2 separate regions of the Homo sapiens genome follow, and region 2 is linked to region 1. The links are contacts of gene promoters, found by promoter capture Hi-C in human tissues and cell types (Jung and others, 2019). All regions are on one chromosome and are shown on one strand. The core of a region is centred on a gene start or on the middle of the fragment in contact, and the rest is flanking DNA. Distances in the headings are between cores, read along the strand shown.

Region 1 (3,408 bases), core at 605-3,104:
AGGGTCCAGCCAGGCCATGCCCAGACTTCTGACCTACAGAAACCATGAGATCATAAATTTGTATTGTTTTAAGCTACTAAATTGTGGTAATTTGTTATGTAGCAATAAGAAAAATTAGTACTGGATTTTAGAGACTTAGTACAAAAAAAAGAAAATGTAAAATATCTCAATAATTTCTTTACTGATTCCAATGTTGAAATCATAATATTTTAGATTTAATAAAATATATCACTAAAAATACAGTTGATCCTGAAACAACACGAGTTTGAACTGCTAGTGTCCACTTACATGCAGATTTTTTTCCAATAAATACATTGGAAAATTTTTGGAGATTTGTGACAATTTGAAAAAACTTACAGATGAACCATGTAGACTAGAAATATCAAAAGCCTTAAGAATAAGTTAGATATGTCGTGAATGCCTAAGATATATGTAGATACTATTTATGTGTCAATCGACTGTTTATATTATTGGTAAGGTTTCTGGCGAACAGTAAGTTATTACTAGTTAAGTTTCAGGGGAGTCAAAAGTTATATTCTAATTTTCTAGGCATGGAGGAGTGGTTTCCCTAACCCCCACTGTTTAAGGGGTAACTGTAATTTCGCCTGTTTTTTACTTCTTTAAAATGTTGCAATCAGAAATGTAAAAGGACATATGTGGGCCGGACGCGGTGGCTCATGCCTGTAATCTCAGCATTTTGTGAGGCCAAGGCAGGTGGATCATTTGAGGCCAGGAGTTCAAGACCAGCCTGGCCAACATGGTGAAACCCCTTCTGTACTAAAAATACAAAAATTAGCTGGGCATGGTGGTGCATGCCTGTAATCCCAGCTACTCAGGAGGCTGAGGCAGGAGAATCGCTTGAACCCAGGAGGCGGAGGTTGCAGTGAGCCAAGATTGTGCCACTGCACTCCAGCCTGCAACAGAGTGAGTGAGACTCTATCTCAAAAAATCAAAAATAAAATAAAATAAAATTATATATGTGGCTCACATTATAGGTGTTGGACTGTGCTGGCCTAGAGGACTCAGAAGTCAGCCATGGGACCTCCGGCAAGTCACCACACCTCTCAAAGCAGTTCTTATCTGTGAGATAGGAATAATAGTAGCACTTACCCCACAGATAAATTTGCAGTTTGAGTGAGATTGAGGTCTGTGCTTGACCCAAGGTAAGTACTCAATAAACGTTGGTAATTATCATTATTATTAATAACAATATGTGCAAAGGCTCATATCCAGGCCCTAGTCTCCAGGAGCCTCTCCCCAACCAGGCACACAGCAGCCACACAACAGGTACATGTGTGGGGATTTCACAACCTCTACAAAGCTCTTTGGCACATGTTCTCTGCCCTCACAACCCACTTGGCAGGTGGGAATCAGGAACCCGTGGGCAGGTAAGGACACTGCGCCTCAGGGGTAAAATGATCGTTTCAAGCTTCACAACTCACCTAGGAAGAACCTGGGGCTCCAAGGGAGATGAGGCCACCTTCTACAGCTCCCTAACTCAGATGCCCACGGTCTGAGAAAATGACTGGAGCTCACCCCTAAAATGGGCGACATAAGATCCTGGCCCTGTCAAGTGTGTGTGCCAGGAATAACTGAGATCAATCACTTGCAGCAGCTGAAGTACCCTGGCACATACTAAACACTCAATTAAGTAAATCATGATTACTGTTGTTCCTTTGCCAGAGAAGCTTCTGCTGAAATCCCTCTCTACGGGGAATCCTCACGCCCTAAATGACCCCTCCTTCCCGGCCCGTAACTCCGGAGGATGCCCCTGCAGGTAGGCCCAGTCTCCAGACACCACCACCCCCCAGCCGAGTCAGGAATAGAAACCGCCGCCTCCGGCCGCCAGCGGCCTCACTCCCTCCTCCGGCAGCGATCGATGCGGCCTTCAGCCGCGGGGGACTAGGCAAGGAAGAAGGAAGGAGAGGGCAGCGGGGCCGCCTGCAGCAGGAGGCTCGGCGGGGCCGGCGGGGCAGAGGCGAGACCGAGTATAGCCAGCGGCTCCCAGCCTCGGTGGCTTTGGGACAGACACGCGAGGCGCCCGGGAGGTGCCACCACAGGTAAGGGGCCTCCTTTGGGGAGGGACGTGGCTCCGGGACGGTCCCGGGCAGCCAGAGTGGGAGGCGGGGCTGCCTGGGGCTCCTGGTGCTCTTACCCCCTCTAAGAGACCCCCCACCCCCCGCCAAGGAGGAAGCAGTGTGGGGTGGCCGCGCTTTGGAGACCCTGGCTGGTACAGTTTGCTCATCTGTAAAATGGGATTAGAAAACCTCCCTGGCAGGGTTGGTGTAGGGATTAAACCGAGTGAGGTGTGCATGGAGCCCAGAGGAGTGACTAGCAGATAGGAGGTGCTCAAAATAAGTGTGTGGAGAGAGAATGAAATAAAAAAACCTGGTCTCCAACCTTAGCTGTGCCATGGACTAGCTGGGTGATTTTGAACAAGTCACTTGGTCTTTCTTACTGATATTCAGGTTCTTGTCAGAAAATGTTTGTTGAATTAATTATCCTGTTTCATAGAGCAGGAAAGTGAGCTCCTGATGGATGAAGGGATTTGCCCAATATTATGCTTCTAATGGGTGATGGAACTGGATTAGAAATTTCATTTTTTGATGCCAAATGCAGGTGGAGATCCAAGTGGAGGTGGGAGCGGAGCTACATCACACGTTTATTGTGCATTGATTATGTGCCAGGGACCATGCTGCCGATAAACACCTTGCATCATTTAATTCTCTGAGCCTCTCCTGGAAAGTATGATGCTACCCGGTTCCACAGACAGGGAAACAAGCCCAGAGAGGGCGACGAATGCACTCAAGGACAGCAGCTAGTAAGTGGTAGACTCAGGTCTGACCACAGGGAAGTACACAGGATTAACATTTATTGAGCATCTACTGTTTTCCCAGGGCTTTGACATATACCACAATAATGATGCATCCAAAGCAACATTATCCCCATTCTAGAGGTAAAAGAGCTAAAGCCCAGAGTGGGAAGGAGACTGGCCTGAGGTCACACAAGTGATAGAGCTAAGGGTGGAACCCCAAATCCATTTAATGCCAAGCCCAGGTGCTTTACACACACTTAATCCCTAGTCTAGGCATTACTGAACCCACAGTGCAAATGAGATTGCCAGTGGTGAGGAGGTGTCACTAGCCCCCAATTCCAGCAGAGTCAGGAGTCAGTGGGTAGTGGAAGAACCTAAATCCTTCCTGAGTATCCACTAAGGCTGAGCACTTTCTATAATCTACCTTAATCCTCCAGTCATCCCTGGAGGTAGGTGCTATTATCTACGTTGTGCAGGAAATTGAGACCTGGAGGACAAATAGCTTCCTCAAGGCCCCAGGTGCGTCAGGGGTGGAGATAAACCCAGGTTTGCCTGACTCCAGAAGATAGTGACACCAGTGAATAATTTATTAA
Region 2 (3,408 bases), core at 414-2,913, 56 kb before region 1:
GCTATTGAACCTCTCTATTGAATATTTCAGTTCAGTTATAGTATTCTTCAGATCCATGATTTCTGTTTGCTACTTTTTTATACTATCTCTTTGTTGAAATTCTGAGTTTCTTCTTGCATTCCCCTTCTGACCTCGCTGAGCATCTTTATAATCATTATTTTTAATTCTCTTTTGGGTAAATAACATATCCCCATTTCATTTGGGCTGGCTTCCTGATTTTGTTTGGTTTATTTATTTGTTTTGTTTTGTTCTTATATATTCCCATGTTTCTTTGTCTTTCTTGACTCTTTGTGTTGATTTCTGCATATTAGATAAGACAACTACAACTTCCAGTCCTGTCAAACTGTGATTTTGTAGGAAAAAAAAATTCCACCAATCCACCTGGTCAGAGATTTTAAGATGCTTCTCAAATATTTGTGTTTTTTCAGACTGCTGGCTCTGTTTTTGATGTCTCCATAGAGCTTAGGATGTGCCTCCTCCTATCTGTACCCAGAGACTGCTAAGGTAGAAGCCTGACTCTCTAAATGTAACTGAAAGGATTGGGATGATGAATGTGTGTTCCAGTTTCATCTATCTTCGCTGAAGCTGAGCATGGGCATTATGGTCCAAAACTCTTTGCAGTAAGCCAGGGAGATAATCTGTGGCAAATGCTGTGCTCCTGTTCAGGCTGCACCCTCTGATCGTGGGAAATGCTGTGCTCACACTGATGCTGCACCCTCTGATCATAACACCCTCTGCTATAGACAGATAGCTTCTGGAACGAAATTGTTGTAAAACCACTTCTTTGTTTTCTGTAGTTTAGGGCAGCTCAGGAATACAAAGCCCCATTGACTCTCACAGCTAAGTTGTTAAAGAGATAGTCCATTTGGTGAGAGCTATAAAACTTGCAGTACTTGGTCCATAGCCAAACTCCTTCCAGGAAGAATGAGTAAGCCTAGATTTATCATTGGGCAAGCTGGATGGAAGTCTCAAGAAGTGCCAAACCCTTGCTCTGGCTGTCAGAGGGCTCTTGTTTGTTTACCCCATTAACTCCCAAATGCAAGTTCATTAATAGCTAGGCCATCACTTAGCCACAGGAAGAGTGTGCTGTAAGCCCTTTCTGGAGAGAAAATAAGAGCTGCACATTCTTGCTCCTTTTCTGTACTTCTTCAAGGGGGAGTAGCCCCTGGAATTTGTTGCACTCCCATTTAAAACCAACTTTTTTGTTCCATGATCTAGAAAGACTAGAATATGCTTGTCCCCCTGTTCACAGAGCTAAGAAGTTTAAGGAGTCCTTCAGGAGGTAGCTGTCTGACTTGGGGCAACTGATACATGGCATAAACACTTTCTGGGGAAAAATGGGACAGGGTTTTTCTATACCTCTTCTCCTTACTCTTCCTGGGCGATGTAACCCCAGATGTGCTCACATGCCCATATAAAACTGTCACTTTTTTTAACTGTGGTTGGAAGAGACATGCATTCCAGTCTCCTCTACTCCCAGAACTAGGAGGATTAGTTCCCTCAGGTGGAAATTGTAAAAGTTGGGGCACTTGATGTGTGAAATGTGTGAACAAATTCCTTCCAGGTGGAATTAATAGACTTAATTATCACTGCAGTGAGCTGGAGAAGAAAGCTTGAAAAGTGGCTATCTACTTCTCAGGTTAACACTTGTCTGCTTCTTTAACTCCCCAATGCAAGTTAGTTAGAAGCCAGGCCACTAGGTAGCCACTGGAAGAGTGTGTCATAAACCCCTTCCAAGGAAAAAAGAAAAAGAAGCTGCATTTTTATTGTTGTTATTGTTGTTTGCCTTTTTTCTTCCTTTCTTTCTTATTTGTTTTATTTGATCAATTCTGCCTTTGACATTCTTAATTGTATCTTTTTCATTTTATTCATTGCATTTTTCAGGTCTAATATTCTGTTTGATCTTCAAAAATTATATTCAATCTCTCTGTTAACATTTTCTCATACGTTTCTGAATTGATTCTGTATTAGTCTGTTCTCACACTGCTATAAAGGACTGCCAATGACTGGGGAATTTATAAAGAAAGCGATTTAATTGACTCACCATTTTGCATGACTGGGGAGGCCTCAGGAAACTTACAATCATTGTGGAAGGGGAAGTAAACACGTTCTTCCCCTTCCATGGGAAGGGGAAGTGCCAAAAAAAGGATGGCACTTCTGTTGGCAGGAAGGAGAAGTGCCAAACAAAAGGGGGAAAAGTCCCTTATGAAACCATCAGATCTCATGAGAACTCACTCACTATCATGAGACCAGCCTGGAAGTAACCACCCCCATGATCCAATTACCTCCCACTGGGTCCCTCCCTTGACACATGGAGATTATGGGAACTACAATTCAAGATGAGATTTGGGTGGGGACACAGCCAAACCATAGCATTCTGCCCCGGCCCCTCCCAAATCTCATGTCCTCACATTTCAAAACACAATTATGCCATTCCAGTAGTCCCCCAACATCTTGATTTATTCTAGCATTAACCCAAAAGTCCAAGTCCGAAGTTTCATCTGAGACAAATTAAGTCCCTTCCACCTATCAGCCTGTAAAATCAAAAGCAACTTAGTTACTTCCTAGATACAATGGGGGTACAGGTATTGGGTAAATACACCCATTGGAAATGGGATGAGTTGGCCAAAACAAAGGGGCTACAGGCTCCATGCAAGTCCAAGATCCAATGAGGCAGTAATTAAATCTTCAAATTCCAAAATAATCTCTTTTGACTCCATGTCTCACATCCAGGTCACGCTGATGCAAAAGGTGAGCTCCACAGCCTTGGGCAGCTCTGTCCCTGTGGCTTTGCAGGGTACAGCCCCCCTCCAGGCTTCTTTCATGGGCTGGCATTGTCTGTGGCTTCTCAAGGTGCACATTGCAAGCTGTCAGTGGATCTACCATTCTGGGGTCTGCAGGATGGTGGCCCTCTTCTCACAGCTCCATTAGGCAGTGACCCAGTGGGGACTCTGTGTGGGGACTCTGATCTCATATTTCCCTTCCACACTGCCCTAGCAGAGGTTCTCCATGATGGCCCTGCTCCTGAAGCAAACTTCTGCCTGGACATCCAGACATTTCCATACATCCTCTGAAATCTAGGCAAAGGTTCCCAAATCTCAATTCTTGAGTTCTGTGCACCCACAGGCTCAACACCACAAGGAAGCTCCCCAGGCTTGGAGCTTGCACCCTCTGAAGCCATGGCCTGAGCTGTATCTTGGCCCCTTTTAGCCATGGCCAGGATGCAGGGCACCAAGTCCCAAGACTGCACAAAGAAGCAAGCCCTGGACCCAGCCTATAAAACCACTTTTTCCTCCTAGGCTTCCAGGCCTGTGATGGGAGGGGCTGCTGTGAAATCCTCTGACACGCCCTGGAGACATTTTCCCCAGTGTCTGGGCAATTAACATTTGGCTTCTCATTACTTACACA

Evidence for each region. Contacts are between HindIII fragments. The study calls those that stand out against the background at their distance.
Region 2: a contact is called between a fragment that was not itself captured here and the fragment with the promoter of KCNS1 in region 1, in 1 of the 25 tissues and cell types used here (spleen).

What each region holds. Positions count from the first base shown.
Region 1 is chr20:45,099,573-45,102,980 of GRCh38, reverse strand. KCNS1 (potassium voltage-gated channel modifier subfamily S member 1) reads left to right here and starts at 1,854. Exons shown (of 4, transcript NM_001322799.2): 1 at 1,854-2,060. The HindIII fragment of the contact is 6,202 bases long and covers 180-3,408 here.
Region 2 is chr20:45,155,671-45,159,078 of GRCh38, reverse strand. No RefSeq gene overlaps it. Among named protein-coding and RNA genes, the nearest start is that of PI3, 18 kb to the left of the region's middle. The HindIII fragment of the contact is 6,370 bases long and covers 1-3,408 here.